Regions from separate parts of the Homo sapiens genome. Here region 1 is linked to region 2. The links are contacts of gene promoters, found by promoter capture Hi-C in human tissues and cell types (Jung and others, 2019). All regions are on one chromosome and are shown on one strand. Each heading gives the region's core, a stretch centred on a gene start or on the middle of the fragment in contact. The rest is flanking DNA. Distances are from core to core; before and after follow the strand shown.

Region 1 (3,507 bases), core at 411-2,910, 240 kb before region 2:
CCTCTGTGCCTCTCCTTTTGTCGGGGGCTATTTCTTCTCTCGGGGGTGACTGCGTTTGCGTGTGTGGGGAAGGGGGTCCTGTGGTCTGTTCTCTGGGGAGAGGTCTGTTTACCTGTTCCTTTCGGGGAGTTTGTACATCTGTCTCCTGGTGGGGAGGAGGGTCTGTGTATCTGGAGGAGATGTCTGCAAGTCTGTCTTCTGGGGCTTGGGGTGGGGGGAGGAAGGGCTTTCCTCCCTCGGACAGTCGTCCTCCGTTCAGCCGGGCTCCGCCTGCCTGCTCCAGCCCCGAGCAGGCTCCGGCGCCCTGGAGACGAGCGCCCCTGGCGGCGGCTACGCGCTCTGCGGCTCTCCCGGCTGTGTCCGTGGGCTTTAGCTACACAGCTCCCGCAGATGTTGAACCCTTCCCGCCTCCCTCCGGAGAAGACAAGGAACCCTCAGCTTCTGCCCTAAAGACTTAGCCCTCTTGTGTCAGATGCCCCCTCCCATAGAGCTGACCCCACATCATCTTTCCTTTTTGCCTCCCACACCGGGACGTGAGGCGTTGGAGCACAGCTTACAGGACTATGACTGACCATCCCCAGTGCAGATGGCCTGGACGCTGGTGCCATTGGGTAGAGGTGGCCAGCTTACCTGGACCAAGAACCCTGCCCCTCTGAACTGTTCCCACCCCTTCTTTCCAGGGACTTCTCTGCAATAAAAAGTTGTGGAGTGGTCTGAGCTGCCAGGAGTTTAAACCCGGATTCTCCAGGCCATTCCCAGAGCACAGACAAACCTGGCTGCGGTGGAGGGGTCAGGGCGAGAACAGTACCAGGAAGCAACCTCCTCCCCTCCTGCTGTGAGGGTCTATGTGACTTAAGTATATGATGATTCGATATTATAGAACCAGAGTCTTTAGGATGGGGAGCCCGGAGTCCATGGGGAAAGCGAGAGAAAGGGTTCATTCATGCAGAAGAGTCTAGCCTGGGGCCCATAGCTTCTGGGCAGCAGAGCTGAGAATTCCATTCTCCATCCATCCATTCACTCTACACATACTTACTGAATGGCCTCATAGTGCTTGGTTCAGGGGACAGGATGGTGAGGAAGACACTCTAGGATTCCTGGAGATGAGGTTCTGGGTAGGGAGGTGGGCCATAGACGAGGAAACCGAGCAGAAACAGAAAAGGGTGAGATGGGGATTGGGCCAGTGCCTTCTATCACCCTGATGGGGCATTTGAAGACAGGTGGCCCTTGCAGATGGGGGCTGGAGAGAGATGAACACAATTGGGTGGCCCAAGCTTGGGTTCTGGTTTAACACACAATTGGGCCACCGAGTTGTGTTAATATGATCTGGTGGCGGGCAGAGGAACAACACACTATGGTGGAGGAAATTGTGGGCTGTGAAATCAGACGGAGGCTCCAGCTCTGTCTCTACTTCAGATCCAGGGTGTAAGTTGGTCCGAGTTTTTACAAGGCATTGGATTTTGGTGGTCGGAAGATAGAGTGGGGTGGCTAGATAAAGGCTGGATTTCTGGGTTCTTTCCCTGCCACACAGACCCAAGAGAAGCTTCTGTACAGTGAGCCCACATTCCTTTCTATTGCATGAAATTACATCATCAATGCAACAATAGTTTCTGCTTTCTATGTCCCTGGGTGGGGCTGAAGTGCGTCATTGGCCAGAGGCTTGGGCTTTACTTTTTAAGGCACTCTAGTGCCAGAGTGTCTGCTGTGTTCTTCTGGGTGCCTGCCCAGAGGACAGGTATCCAAAAGGCCCTCTTCTTGTGTAAACAGAAAAGTCTCATGCAAGAGGAATGGGACTGAAACTTGGCTAGCCGGATGCCACCCTCCTGAGGGGTAGGGGGCATGACCCCACTGGGCTCACACATCAGCCCTGGTTGATAAATACTGACCTGCCAACACTCGCAAATGCAAACAAGCTGCCTGAAGATTCTTTCAAGATTCTTTAGTCCAGCTCTGTGCTCCTTGCATTTTGCTAGGGGATCATGAGATTCTCTGCTATTCAAGCCCAATTTTCTCCAGCTCCTGCTATGATGATCATGTCAACAAGGGAACTTTGTGGGAATTGTAGGCAGGATCTAGGATGTACATTCTGCAACCTGCGTCACTCAGGACTGTTGCTCACATTTTCCCTTTTCAAATACCGAACCTGGACTTGCCTGATGTCAATCCAGAAGATCCCCAGGGCTTTGGGGTCAGGTTTGAGTTTCTTCCTGGGCCAGGGCCCTGTGGATCACAAGCAATGTTTGTGGTTTGGAGACTAATTCCCTGAGAGGCTCCCCTGGCCATGGGCCACATTCCAGACTGGGGTGGGAGGAAACTGCCCAGTGCATTTATGGAGAGTCATTCCCCAGCCCATTTATAAGCTTTGTGAGTCGGGTGGCTTCTGAAGGGAGGAGGGCTGTCCTCAGTTCAGTCATTGCTTCTCAGCAGAAGGGCACTATAAGGTGTGAGTCCTCTGTTGGCTCTGCATGCCTGCCTCACACTCCGTTGTATTTAAACATGTCAGATGCTAACTTGGCTGTGGTCATGTCTCTATCTGAGCCCCAGGAGGGCAGTGAAGGTCTCATCCATCCTCAGGGTCTGCCACAGAGTAGATGTGATGGGGTTGAGGCTGCATGGTCCTGGTTGGTGTGTCCTGTCCTGAGATGTATTGGGCCCTGTTTTTGACCATTGGCATGTGGCATTCTGCATAACCCCTTGGAAGTCTCTTGTGGAGTCTAAATGCAGTCCTTCCTGCTGTGATTTCAGCTGTAAGAGATCAACCAGACCAGCCTGGAGTAAGGAAGGAAGGGCCTTGATCCTGTTCCCAGTCTTATTCTTACCTTGTCCAAACTCTTCACCTGTTTCTGGGCCTCAGTCCTGCCCTCCTCTAGATCTAAATTGTGAAGATTCTTTTTTTCCTTCTTATTTAATTTTAAATTTATTTTTGTAGTGATGAAGTCTTGCTCTATCACCCAGGCTAGAGTGCAGTGGCAGGATTATAGCTCACTGCAGCCTCAACCTCCTGGGCTGAAGCGATCCTCCTGCCTCAACCTCCTCAGTAGCTGGGACTACAGGCACATGCCTCCACGCTCTGCTAATTAAAAAAAAAGTTTTGTAGAGATGGGGTCTCACCATACTGCCCAGGCTGGTCTCAAACTCTTGGCCTCAAGCAATCCTCCTGCCTCAGCCTCCCAAAGTGCTGGGATTACAGATGTGAGCCACTGTGCTTGGCTTTCTTTTTCCTTGTTTTCTTCCCTACTTAGTCCCTCTGAGCCAAAGGTTAGCTGCAAAATAGAGTAACTATCAGAGGGTTGTTTGAGAAAAGGTATTGCTGCATGTAAAGTGCTTAAAGCATAGGAAGTTATGTAAGTGTAACTATTATTTCACTTACTGGAATTCTTTAGAAGGTTTTTGAGCCCCCTGAAACAATTTTTTTTTTTTTTGAGACAAAGCCTTGCTCTGTCGCCCAGGCTGGACTGCAGTGGCGCAATCTTGGCTCACTGCAAGCTCCGCCTCCCGGGTTCACAC
Region 2 (3,553 bases), core at 1-2,500:
TGCTCCAGGAACCGCACCTGGAGGGGAGCAGGGTTTGAAGATAGAGAAACTTGGATTTCATGTTCTATGATCAACTCACTAAGGTGCCTCCCACCTCTTTCCGTCCCTCTAAAGCTTTTCTGTGCACTGTGCCTGGCCCTGGGCCCCAGGAGGGGAGGTGCAGACTGAGGCACCCAAACTCACTTTTCCAGGGGGAGATAGGACACCTATCCAGGGCACAGAAAGCACTAGGAGTGCTGCTTGGAGTGTGTCCCGGCTCAGGGGTGGCTGCAAAGGCACTCAGGCTGCTGCCCATGCACTTGTCTACCTTCCTGTACAGTCAGCCCCTTTATATATGGCATGAAATTCATCTCTCTGTCCAACAGTTGTTAAGAGGCCCTTGTGAGCTAACCTCTGAATGGGAAGAAATAATTCTCCCTTCCCAGCTGCCAGTCTAATTCAGAACGTGTCCACAAATCCAGGGCACAGAAACAAACGGAAACACAGAACTGTACAACTATAAAAGTATTTGCACAAAGCCAAAACATCTTCCTTCTTTCTCTCTCTTTGGCATTTATTTCAGACCCACAGTGATTTTTTACAAAAGATCGTAGCTCACCTTGTCGATGAAGGAGGCAAACTTATTGTTGAGGGTCTTGATCTGCTCGCGCTCCTCGGTCCTCACCCTCTGGATGCTGGGGTCGATTTGCAGGTTGAGGGGAGTCAGGAGACTCTGGTTGACAGTGACCTCTTGGATACCTCCAGGAGGGCAGACAGGAAAGCCAGGGCCACCGAAGCCACCTCCAAAGCCAGCTCCGCCACCGAGCCCAAAGCCACCACCAGCTCCACCGCCGAAACCAAATCCACTACCGGCACCACCTCCAAAGCCATAGCCGCCTCCAGCACCAGCACCAAACCGGTTCCTGAAGCTGCCACCACTAGTGCTGATGGATATCCTCTTGGAGCCCCCCAGGTTGTAGAGGCTCCGGCTGCCATAGCCACCCACTCCACAAGCACCCGCAAGGCTGACCCTGCCGAAGCCACCACCACCGCCACCCCCGGACCGGGACACGGAGGTGAAGCTGGTGCGGGAGACAGACGGGGTGATGGCAGAGGCGGTGCTGAAGCTACGACTGCCCCCGCTCCGGAAGGACACACTTGACTGGCGAGACATGGTGGCTTGTTCCTGGTGGAGCAAGAGAACCAGGCACTAGTGGGTTGGGAGGTGCTGGAGAGAACAGAGCTCAGCAGGACGCAGAAGGTGGCTCTGTTACCCAGGAACGGTGATGCCCCCTTTTTATCCCTTCCAGAACTGGGCTGGGCGAGAGAGCTGTCGAGCTGTGAATGATTAAGTGGGCTGGGCATGCCTGGGGGGCAGCTGTGAGCTCACCGGTCACACCTGCACAGTGGTGTGGGGTGCAAACGCTTTCTTCCTGGCAGGCTCTGCTCAGTTAGAAATAACCTTGCCTTGCAGCACTGATCTCTTGGCAGCAAGTTGGTGACGCTGCTAGCAAGTATGTCTTCACCATAGAGGCTGGGGGCTGTGAGCAGCCCAAAAAGGATGCCAGGAACTGAGGGGGCATTGGCATGGCCAGTGTCCTGGGGACTCTTACAGGACCAGGAGTATTGACAACCATCCCAGTACGGTACATGCTGAGCACCTGCCCTTCCAGCTTGGGGAAGCTGTCCATCAGCGGGGGGCAAACGATTCCCCAGTGATCTGCTCTTACACTTTTCCAGGCAGCAGGTTGCTGCAGGGTTTTCCCCTCTGGGAAAGGCAATCTGTAGCCTTATATTCTTGGTTATGTGCTAGAGGGAAAATAGAGTTTCATCCTTTTCTGCACAATTTTTTTCTTAGGGAAGGCACAGCTATCCCAGAGCCCACTGGGCAGATCTGCCTGCAAGGTTTAGGCCAGAGAATGTGGGAAGCCCTCAGCGCCCCCTATAAACCACTTTGACCTCTTTAAGGCCAGGTTTATCCTTCCATAGCTCCTCCTAACTCAGCATTTTTTCTGCCCTTTGACCTTTTCCTTGCTCTTTGGCCTGGGCAGGACTCTGTGGGGGGTTTAGGAAACCCGGGGATCCCATGCAATCCCTTAAAAAAAAACCCTGAGACTCATGGGCTATAGCGTCTCTCTTTGGGGGTAGCTACTCTGCCGGTTCCCCAGCCCCCCAGGTGTGTTCCAGCAAGCTCTATTCCACTAGGGAAGAAATGAGTCATCGTATGTGTTGATACAGGCTGAAGGCCGCCACAAACACATACCTGCAGGAGCTTCTAATCTCATCAGGAACATGTTGAGAGTCTGACGGCCTGTTATAACGGCGAACCACCCTGTTCCAAGCAGCGGGACTTGCTCTGCTTTCTCTATGCTGTAGCCCACAGCCTCCTTCAGGGCCAAGGCAATGGAAAACGGGATTCTAAGTCTATGGATTGTCCTGCCAGAAAGGCTAGCCAGAGCAGGCCTGTGGGCCCAGGCAGCTGGCATGACAATCTGCCAGCTGCTTTAGGGAGGGCCCTTTGAGATCCCCTCTGCAAAACTTGTCTGGGGGGTTGTGGCACCAGGTGGAGGAAAGGGGGTTTCTGATGAGGTTTTAACACACGTCTGTTCTAAACCACACCCACTCTTTTTGGCAGCAGATCTGAGTGGGGCCACCTCTCTGCCGTCCCCCAAATAGAAGCAGGGCTCTCAGGCAGGACAGTGCTTGGGCTGTTCAGAGTTTCGGGGGCGCCCTGTGGCCCGAGGCTGGAGGTAGGAATGCAATGGGGATGGCTTCAAAGCCTCAGGGAGGAGGGGCTATATTCTCAAGAGTAGAAGAACAGGACCAGACCCAGGCTCAGGAATCTCTCACCAGGGCCTGCGGTTGGCCACAAGGAAGCCAAGGCAGTGGGAAAATGACTCCCTGGTGCTGAGGATCAGCTGAAACAGTGACTTCTCACCAGAGGGCTGCGATGAGCAAGCAGCTGACAGGTCAATCTCGGCAGACAGACCAATGGCCGGAGCCGGTCTTACAGGTCTTGAGCAAAATGGTTTGGGTGGCCTCCCTGGCTGGAGCATTTCTGAGACCCTCAGAGATGAATTGTGCTGAGCTCACCATTTTCACATTTGGTTGCTTTCTGGAGAACAGATGTGAGTGTCCTGGAGGCCTGAGACATACCAGGGGACCCTCGGCTCCTGATAGAACAGAACAGATCCAAGCCTGAAGCAAGTGTCTGAGGACTCGTAGTGGGATGCTCCTGCTCCACTCAAAGATCGATATCGGGGTATATCCCCACCACCACATACACTCACAGGTCCCGGGTACAGACCTCACTGCCCTCAGGGAAGCCCCACCCCTCCTGAGACACTGGGACATTCTCTTCTCCCCATTCATTCTCCTCCCAGCTGTGTTGTGAAGAAAGAGGACTTGGCAGAGCAGGAATGCGTTCTGGCTAGTCTGAGGATTGCTAGAGTGTGCCAAGCTCAGATCCATGTGCCAGGGACCAACGGTGAGTGTGTGGTGCTCCATGGGAGCAGGGAGCATGTGGGTGCTCCATGGGAGAAGCAGCAGCACTCTTCTATCCGAGCTTCGTGGG

What was found. The method cuts DNA at HindIII sites, captures the fragments that hold promoters and counts their contacts. A contact is called where the count stands out against the background at its distance.
Region 1: a fragment that was not itself captured here is called in contact with the fragment with the promoter of KRT5 in region 2 in 1 of the 25 tissues and cell types used here (adrenal gland).

What each region holds. Positions count from the first base shown.
Region 1 is chr12:52,278,829-52,282,335 of GRCh38, forward strand. The region is part of intron 2 of KRT86 (keratin 86); the gene reads left to right. KRT86-AS2 (KRT86 antisense RNA 2) reads right to left here and starts at 328. Exons shown (of 2, transcript NR_199073.1): 1 at 113-328. RefSeq lists an enhancer at 1,249-2,448. The HindIII fragment of the contact is 5,713 bases long and covers 1-3,507 here.
Region 2 is chr12:52,519,144-52,522,696 of GRCh38, forward strand. It overlaps KRT5 (keratin 5), which reads right to left and starts at 1,251. Exons shown (of 9, transcript NM_000424.4): 1 at 599-1,251; 2 at 1-17. The coding sequence starts at 1,153. RefSeq lists enhancers at 1-338, 3,158-3,553. The HindIII fragment of the contact is 8,601 bases long and covers 1-3,553 here.